3 separate regions of the Homo sapiens genome follow, and regions 1 and 3 are each linked to region 2. The links are contacts of gene promoters, found by promoter capture Hi-C in human tissues and cell types (Jung and others, 2019). All regions are on one chromosome and are shown on one strand. Each heading gives the region's core, a stretch centred on a gene start or on the middle of the fragment in contact. The rest is flanking DNA. Distances are from core to core; before and after follow the strand shown.

Region 1 (2,700 bases), core at 170-2,669, 100 kb after region 2:
AGGAATTGTGGCATGGTTTTATACTGTAGCAGTGAACAGCAGGTACTCAATCATGAAGAGCTAAGCCTGATTTCATCACGACAGCTGTGAAAGTTGCAGGTACCAAAATGGAACTACTTCCACCAATCCCTAAACAAATGGAGTCGGGAGGCCACGAAGGGGGAGCTCTCATGCAGGAATACCTGCAGCAGGCCTCCTCACAAGACGCTCCTGCACGTCCTGCACGTTTGCCTGTAACCGGACTTACTGCAGGGAAATTCCTCAGGACTGCAGTATTCTAGATAAGCAGCTTGCACAAGGACGTCGGCCTGGTAAGGCTCTCTCCAACAACAAGCTAACGCCCACTCCTGCAGCAAGCGCCCACAGCCAGTGGTTTTTGTTACAAAACAACTTTTGTGAGCTCATCTGTATTTTCCCCTTCGCCCGGCCCTCTCAGATAGGCCTATGATCTGTCATGGCACGAACAGCCTAGGCTGCAACCCCCTGCGATTCCCAGATTAACTCACTTGTCCTGGAGAGCCTGCCTCTGGGTTTCCTTTCAGGTTGACAGTTTGGGAGCTAACAGGACCACGTGAGGGGTGCAGCGGGGAAGATCAGCCAGGTTCTCAGGGACCTTCTCCGGAAGTACGCAATGTCTACAATTAAGAAATGAGAGGCCGGGCGCGGTGGCTCACGCCTATAATCCCAGCACGTTGGGAGCCCTAGGAGGGCAGATCACGAGGTCAGGAGTTCGAAATCAGCCTGGCCAAAATGGTGAAACCCCGTCTTGACTAAAAATGCAAAAATTAGCTGTGCGTGGTAGCGCATGCCTGTAGTCCCAGCTGCTCGGGAGGCTGAAGCAAGAGAATAGTTTAAGCCCTGGAGGCGGAGGTTGCAATGAGCCGAGATCGCGCCATTGCACTCCAGCCTGGGCGACAGGGCGAGGCTCCGTCTCCAAAAAAAAAAAAAGAAAGAAAGAAAGAAATGAGAAACTAGCAGTGCATTGTTCAGAAACGCGGAGACTTCTCTCAGGAGAAAGCGAGAAGCAAGCGTCCAACTCTGGGGTGCAGAACCCGGGGCGGGAGGACGGGCCCGGACTGCCGTTTCTCGCTGTGTCCAGGTCTGCGTGACTCAAAACCCCGGATAGGGCCCGCACTGGTGGAGTCGGAAAGAGGTGGCTGCGGCGCGGCAAGTGCCGCCAGTGCCAGCGAGCGCGACGTCGCTCCCAAGCCCCCGTCTCTATGGCAACCGAGTGCGTCTCTAGGACCGCCACTGCGCAGGCGCCCGGAGGCTAAGCCGCTCGGAACCTAGCTGCGCCACGCAGGGTAGGCGACGCAGACGCTCCCGCGTGACGCACTTCCGGTGCTTGCCCTGCCCATCCCCGTGGCGGGGGCGTGGCCATGGCGGGGGCGCTCCGGCGGGGGCGGGCCCTGGGCTCCCGCCCTTCGGGTCCCACAGTTTCCAGCCGCCGCTCTCCTCAGTGCCCGGTGGCCCAGGAGGGCCTGGGAGCCCGAAGCCGTCCCCGAGTCGCTCCTAGGTCACTGGCGCGATGCGGGCCGTCCTCTCGGCTGATGGTGCGTGCGGGCGCGGATCTCCTCCCCTGGTCCTCCGCACCGTCCCCGAGTCGTTCTCCGCTCTGGCAGAACGCGAGCGCCGTCCGGTTCCCGCTCCCGCTGGCCCAGCAGCCCCGGGCTGGACTCGGCGTAGGGTCCGCACGGGATGGGCTGGGGCTGCGCGCGCAGCGCCGCCGCGGGGCCTCCTGGGAGTTGTGGTCCGGCCACCCGCGCGGGACTCCAGCTCCCGGCAGGCCTCGCGCGGCCCGGGGCCAGCGGCGCTGGGGTCGGCGCTGGGGTCGTCGTCCGGGCCGGGTGGGCTGCGGCGCGCGGCAGGCGCTCTGGCCTGGCCTGGCCGCCGCTGAGCAGTCGGGGCCGGTGGGTGGCCTCGAACGCCGGGACAGACCGACAGACGGACTGGCCGGCGGTCCCGCGCCCCCGAGCGGAGCGGGCGGGACGGAAACGTCCGGGCAAGTTGGGGTCGGCAGGTACTGCGCGGCCCTGGCAAGGTCTGGCAGCGGACAGGGCCGGGCGGCCTCCGCGAGCCACGGGCACGAATGACAGGGGGCGGGGCGCGCTCCGGGTGGGGGTGCCCGCCGTGCCCGCCCCTGGCCCGCCCGTTCCCCTGCGCCGGCGCCCGTGCGCGTCCCGGAGCCTCCTGACGTCTGCGAGCCGCGGCCGCCAGACCCCGGGCGCACGCAATTACGGGCCCGGCGCTGGCGGCTCCTGCGCGCTCAGACCCCAGGGAGCCCATCCGGGCAGGCGGCGGCCCTGAGTGTCGCGGCCGTGGGCCCGAGTGGACCTGGAGCCGGCGGGCAGCCCCGGGGGCAGACAGGCGACCGAGCCGCGGGTCGAGGTGCTAACTGTGCATCTTGGCATCTCCCCTCGGCCACAGGGTTGGAAGCCCAGCGAGGCTAGAGGCCAGTCCCAAAGTTTCCAGGCATCAGGGCTGCAGCCCAGGAGCCTCAAGGCGGCCCGGCGGGCGACTGGACGGCCGGACAGGTGAGCTCTTGATCGTCCGCGGCCTGATAGTTTGCACTTGGCTCTCCCACTTTGGGGCTCCGTGGAAGCCACGTCAGAGAGGCTGTGTTTGTGTCTGAGCATGCATGCGAGTGGAGGGGAGTGGTGAGTAATCCCGCGTCTCCTCTCTGAGTTCGGAACCCATGGA
Region 2 (2,700 bases), core at 139-2,638:
GTGAGCCACCGCGCCTGGCCGGCATTTTCTGGCTTTTTTTTTTTTTTTTGACAGAGTCTGACTCAGTCGCCCAGACTGGAGTGCAGTGACGAGATCTCGGCAGCTCACTGTGTTATATGTAAATTTTCTGTGCCGCCAAAGAAGTAGAACTCGAATATAAATTTTTCTCAGCTAGATAATTTACTTCTATAGAAGGGGACATCTCATAGATGGAGCAATGGCGAGCGCTTGGACAAGGGAGGGGAAGGGGTTCTTATTCCTGACGCGGGTAGCCCCTACTGCTGTGTGGTTCCCCTATTGGCTAGGGTTAGAATGCACAGTCTAAACTAGTGCCCATTGGCTATTTTAAAGGGAGCAGGAGTATGGGCCAGAGTGGCGGGGTGAGTGGTTTGGCGGGAAAAATGGTTATGGGACAGGTAACTAAAGGTGACTCAGGTCAAAGCAGGAGACCGGGATTAGTTAGGACGGAGCAGGTGACCAGGGCAACAGATGTCAACTACTGACTAGAACTGGTGGAAAAGGTTGTTTACTGAAACTGCGAGGAAGGTAGACTTTAAAATGCAGGACAAAGACTGAACATACTGATATACTGATTCTTTGAAGGGAAGTTTAGAACTCATTGTATCTAACATTATTCAGGCTTAAAACAGTTTCCAATCCAGTGGGAAAAGTCACTCCATATATTCCGTGAAGTCAACCAGTTCCATCAAGGAGAAAGTCAGGGCCGCTGGGAGCGCGTGGACCGTGGGCTCCGGGGCGGCGCCTGCCCGGGCACCCCGGCCCCGTCCACGCCCCGCAAGAGGAGCTCGCTGGCCCCGCCACGCGGGAAGGGGTCGCCCCGGGGTCTTGGGCGGGAGGGCCGTGCGGGCTGCGGAGACACCGAGGAGGGGAGGCGCCTCTCCTGAGCTCTTGGCGCAGCGACCCCAGGGCGCCGACTCATCGCGGAAGGGCTCGGCTTGCCCGGGCGCCGGTGCCGCCTCGGGTGAGGTTCCCGCGAGACTCTTCTCTGCGTCCTGGACTCACCGCAGGGCGCCCCGCCGCACGGATCGAGAACCTTGGGGCTCCCTGGAAACTTGCCACCCGCTGCCGCCAAGGCCGGAACTCCTCGGAGCCCCTAGCAACGGAGCCCCTAGCAACGGAGCCCACGCGGATGCGGCGCGGGGCTGACGCTGCCTTGGGTTCGCCTACGTCCCTCGGGAATTTTGTCCCGGCGTGGCTCCCGTAGCCAGATGCTTCGCCGCTCCCGCCCCGCTGGCTCCCAAAGCCTGTTCGGCAGTCGCGGCGCCGTCGCTATGGCGTCACTGTCCTCGGGGCCAATCCAAGGGCTGCGCGCGTGTCCCTTACGCGCTTCTATCGCCGGGAGGAAGGGGTGTGTGTGGCGCCTGCGCAGTGGCGGTGACCACCGGCTCGCGGCGCGTGGAGGCTGCTCCCAGCCGCGCGCGAGTCAGACTCGGGTGGGGGTCCCGGCGGCGGTAGCGGCGGCGGCGGTGCGAGCATGTCGTGGCTCTTCGGCATTAACAAGGGCCCCAAGGGTGAAGGCGCGGGGCCGCCGCCGCCTTTGCCGCCCGCGCAGCCCGGGGCCGAGGGCGGCGGGGACCGCGGGTTGGGAGACCGGCCGGCGCCCAAGGACAAATGGAGCAACTTCGACCCCACCGGCCTGGAGCGCGCCGCCAAGGCGGCGCGCGAGCTGGAGCACTCGCGTGAGTGCGGCGGGGCGGGGCGGCGCGGGCGGGCGGGCGGGACGGGCCGGGGAAGCGGGAGCCCTGGCCCTTGCCGCTCCTCGCCGCTGTCGGCAGCCACTTCCCGGGCGAGACTGCGCCCCCGGAGCACCCCCGGCCGGAGCCGTGTCGCGTGCCGGGAGGATCGGACTCTTTCCGTCACCCGTTTGCACCTCTGCAGCTGTCAGGAGCGGGTCAGGTGCGGAAAGCGGTGCGGAGGTGGCGCTCATAGGTTACAGGGGTCAGGGTCTGGGGCTGGCCGTGGTCTTCAGTTACCGCCGAGCGTGCGGGATCCTTCTGCGCTTGCCGCCTCCACGTGGCACAGGCCAAGGCGTGGCCAGATGGGTAGATGGGTTTGTTGGGTGGTTGCTAGCAGTTTCCACGTAACAAGGGAAGCGTATTTGAGAGTTACTTGATTCTAACGAGACTAGCAGATTTGCACTTCTTGTTGGAAGACGTTAGCATTTGCACGGCGAGGTCTGTGAAGCCACAGGCCAGGCCGTGCTGCTCAGCTTGAGTAAACCCCTGACCCAAGGCCCTCAGGGTGTGAGCACTCACCATGTTGTTCAGGCTGGTCTTGAATTCTGGCCTCAGGTGATTCGCCCACCTCGGCCTCCCAAAGCGCTGGGATGACAGGCGTGAGCCGCTGCTCATGGCCTTCCTCGGTAATTTTAACCATCAGGTTAGGATGGGAATCAAGGGCTGGACTTCAGGGCACCTCGGAGGACAGCGGATGTTGGTGACTGACTTTCTTGCTGCAGGCTTATTTGGAGGGTTCCTTTGTGTCCTAGTTCCTGGGGGTTTTCACCCGCTAACTTCACTTAGAGATTGAAACTTCTCCCACTTCCAGAAGCTGAATCGTAGTGATCAGCCTGCGGCCCCCTGCAGTGGTACAGGCCTGGTTGAGCAGCCTCAGGCCGCCTCCCCATAGTGCAGACCTGTGCCTCTGAGTTGCTCCAGTCCTGGCGGCCCCGGAGCTCCT
Region 3 (2,700 bases), core at 13-2,512, 72 kb after region 2:
ATGAGGGTCCGCAGGTGAGCCCAGTGCAGATTGCCAACCCACAGAATTGTGGACAAATACGTGACCTGTTTTTGCTGCCAAATTTTGGGATGGTCTGTTACACAGTGAAGGCTAGCTGATACGCAGTTCCTCATTTCTCCTCTGGTGATGAGATCCACTTTCATTTCAGGAGGCAGTGTGCCAGTCTCAGTAGATGGAACACAATCCACAATCGGTCTATTCAACCATGACAATTTTATTCCCTACTGTTGGGGAAGTGTCTCGAGTCAGACCCTCCCCACCAAGTGCAAAGAGAACGCATCTCAGCTATCCCTTCTGCCAGCCCAGCCTACGGGGGCCAGATGTATCTTCTGGGCTCTTAGAAGTGTCAGTCGGTGCCATGGGGACTGCTCCTACAAGTCTGGCGTGGATGCCCCCAGGTACACCCTGAGGTCCGAGAGGGTGGACTGCACAAGCTTGTCCAGGATGGCCCTTGCTGCAGCTACCGGTAGGCTGCGTGCCAATAACAGCCGCCAAAGGAGTAGAAGTAATCACCAACCTGGGTCCCTTTGATCCAGGACATCCGTGGGGCACACTGTCTGGGTCTTCCTAGGTCATGTCCACGAGGTTCTGCGTCTCGGCTGGGCCCAGCACAGATGGTGGCAGCTACGTGAGCAGCTCAGTGGCACGCCGTGCACCTGGGAATGCAGCCCGACTGGGCACTCCCGCCCTGCACACCGTTGCAGGGCCTGGGACCCGGGGCTGCCCCAGCCCACATCCACCCTGCCCGATCGATGCTCCTCCTGCACACAGCCCCGTTACCACTGCCACTGCCCCAAAGCATAAAAATTTTTTTTTTTTTTTTGAGATGGAGTTTTGCTCTTGTTGCCCAGGCTGGAGTGCAATGGCATGATCTCAGCTCACCACAACCTCTGTCTCCCGGGTTCAAGCAATTCTTCTGCTTCAGCCTCCCGAGTAGCTGGGATTACAGGCATGCGCCATTAATTTTGTATTTTTAGTAGAGATGGGGTTTCTCCATGTTGGTCAGGCTGGTCTCAGACTCCAGACCTCAGATGATCCGCCCGCCTCGGCCTCCCAAAGTGCTGGGATTACAGGCGTGAGCCACCGCGCCCGCCAATTAATTTTTTTTTTTTTTTTTTGAGACGGAGTCTCGCTGTGGCCCAGGCTGGAGTGCAGTGGCGCAATCTCAGCTTACTGCAAGCTCCATCTCCCAGGTTCACACCATTCTCCTGCCTCAGCCTCCCGAGTAACTGGGACTACAGGCACCCACCACCACACCCGGCTAATTTTTTGTATTTTTAGTAGAGACGGGATTTCACCGATTAGCCAGGATGGTCTCAGTCTCCTGACCTTGTGATCCACCCACCTCAGCCTCCCAAAGTGCCAGGATTACAGGCGTGAGCCACCGTGCCCGGCCAGTTTTGGGGTTTTTTTGTTTTTGTTTTTGTTTTTGAGACAGCGCCTTGCTGTGTCGACCAGGCTGGAGTGCAGTGGCATGATCTTGGCTCAGTGCAACCTCTGCGTCCCGGGTTCAAGCAATTTTCTTGCCTCAGCCTCCTGAGTAGTTGCAATTACAGGCGTGTGCCACCACGCCTGGCTAATTTTTTGTATTTTTAGTAGAGACGGGGTTTCACCATGTTGGCCAGGCTGGTCTCGAACTCCTGACCTCGTGATCCTCCCACTTTAGCCTCCCAAAGTGTTGGGATTACAGGCGTGAGCCACCGTGCCTGGCCACCCATCAGTTTTAAAATGTGCCTGAGTTAGAGCAGAACAGAAGCTGAGAAAAATTAAAAAGAAAGATAAATAAGTACAGTTTGCCCAAGTTGGGCCATAATATAGCCTGCTGGAGAACCAAAAAATCTGCTGTGACTTAATGTTTGAGAATCCCATTTCATTTCTTCTTATTTTCTGAAGAGCAAAGAAGCTTCCATAGATCCTATCAGGAATTGTCAAGCACATGGACCACTGTTTCAGATGGTGGCGACAGACCCAGTAACTTTCGTTGTTGTTTTGTTTTCTTTTGAAACAGAATCTCACTCTGCAGTCCAGGCTGGAGTGCAGCGGTGCAATCTTGGCTCACTGCAACCTCTGCCTTGTGAGTTCAAGCGATTCTCCTGCCTCAGCCTCTAGACTAGCTGGGATTACAGGTGCATGCCACCATGTCCAGCTAACTTTTTTTGTTTGTTTATTTGTTTGTTTGTTTGTTTTGAGACGGAGTCTTGCTCTATTGCCCAGGCTGGAGTGCAGTGGTGCAATCTCGGCTCACTGCAAGCTTCACCTCCCGGGTTCATGCCATTCTTCTGCCTCAGCCTCCCAAGTAGCTGGGACTACAAGTGCCCGCCACCACGCCTGGCTAATTTTTTTTTTGAGATGGAGTCTCGCTGTGTCGCCCAGGCTGGAGTGCAATGGCGCAATCTCAGCTCACTGCAAGCTCTGCCTCCCAGGTTCACGCCATTCTCCTGCCTCAGCCTCCCAAATAGCTGGGACTACAGGCACCCGCCACCACGCCCGGCTAATTTTTTGTATTTTTAGTAGAGACAGGGTTTCACCGTGTTAGCCAGGATGGTCTCGAACTTCTGACCTCGTGATCCACCTGCCTCGGCCTCCCAAAGTGCTGGCATTACAGGTGTGAGATACCGCGCCCAGCCAAGACTCTTTTTTTAAAAACAAACAAGCAAACAAAAATTATCTGGACATAGT

Evidence for each region. The method cuts DNA at HindIII sites, captures the fragments that hold promoters and counts their contacts. A contact is called where the count stands out against the background at its distance.
Region 1: a contact is called between the fragment with the promoter of MIB2 here and the fragment with the promoter of ATAD3A in region 2, in 1 of the 25 tissues and cell types used here (mesendoderm cells).
Region 3: a contact is called between a fragment that was not itself captured here and the fragment with the promoter of ATAD3A in region 2, in 11 of the 25 tissues and cell types used here (IMR-90 fibroblasts, adrenal gland, aorta and 8 more).

The regions. Positions count from the first base shown.
Region 1 is chr1:1,614,081-1,616,780 of GRCh38, forward strand. It overlaps MIB2 (MIB E3 ubiquitin protein ligase 2), which reads left to right and starts at 1,420. Exons shown (of 20, transcript NM_001170687.4): 1 at 1,420-1,553; 2 at 2,428-2,534. RefSeq lists an enhancer at 915-1,084 and silencers at 1,185-2,234, 2,265-2,354. The HindIII fragment of the contact is 4,042 bases long and covers 1-2,700 here.
Region 2 is chr1:1,510,774-1,513,473 of GRCh38, forward strand. It overlaps ATAD3A (ATPase family AAA domain containing 3A), which reads left to right and starts at 1,389. Exons shown (of 16, transcript NM_001170535.3): 1 at 1,389-1,700. The coding sequence starts at 1,496. RefSeq lists silencers at 697-896, 1,347-1,506 and an enhancer at 1,137-1,196. The HindIII fragment of the contact is 15,639 bases long and covers 1-2,700 here.
Region 3 is chr1:1,583,115-1,585,814 of GRCh38, forward strand. No RefSeq gene overlaps it. Among named protein-coding and RNA genes, the nearest start is that of SSU72-AS1, 9.5 kb to the left of the region's middle. The HindIII fragment of the contact is 3,924 bases long and covers 1-2,700 here.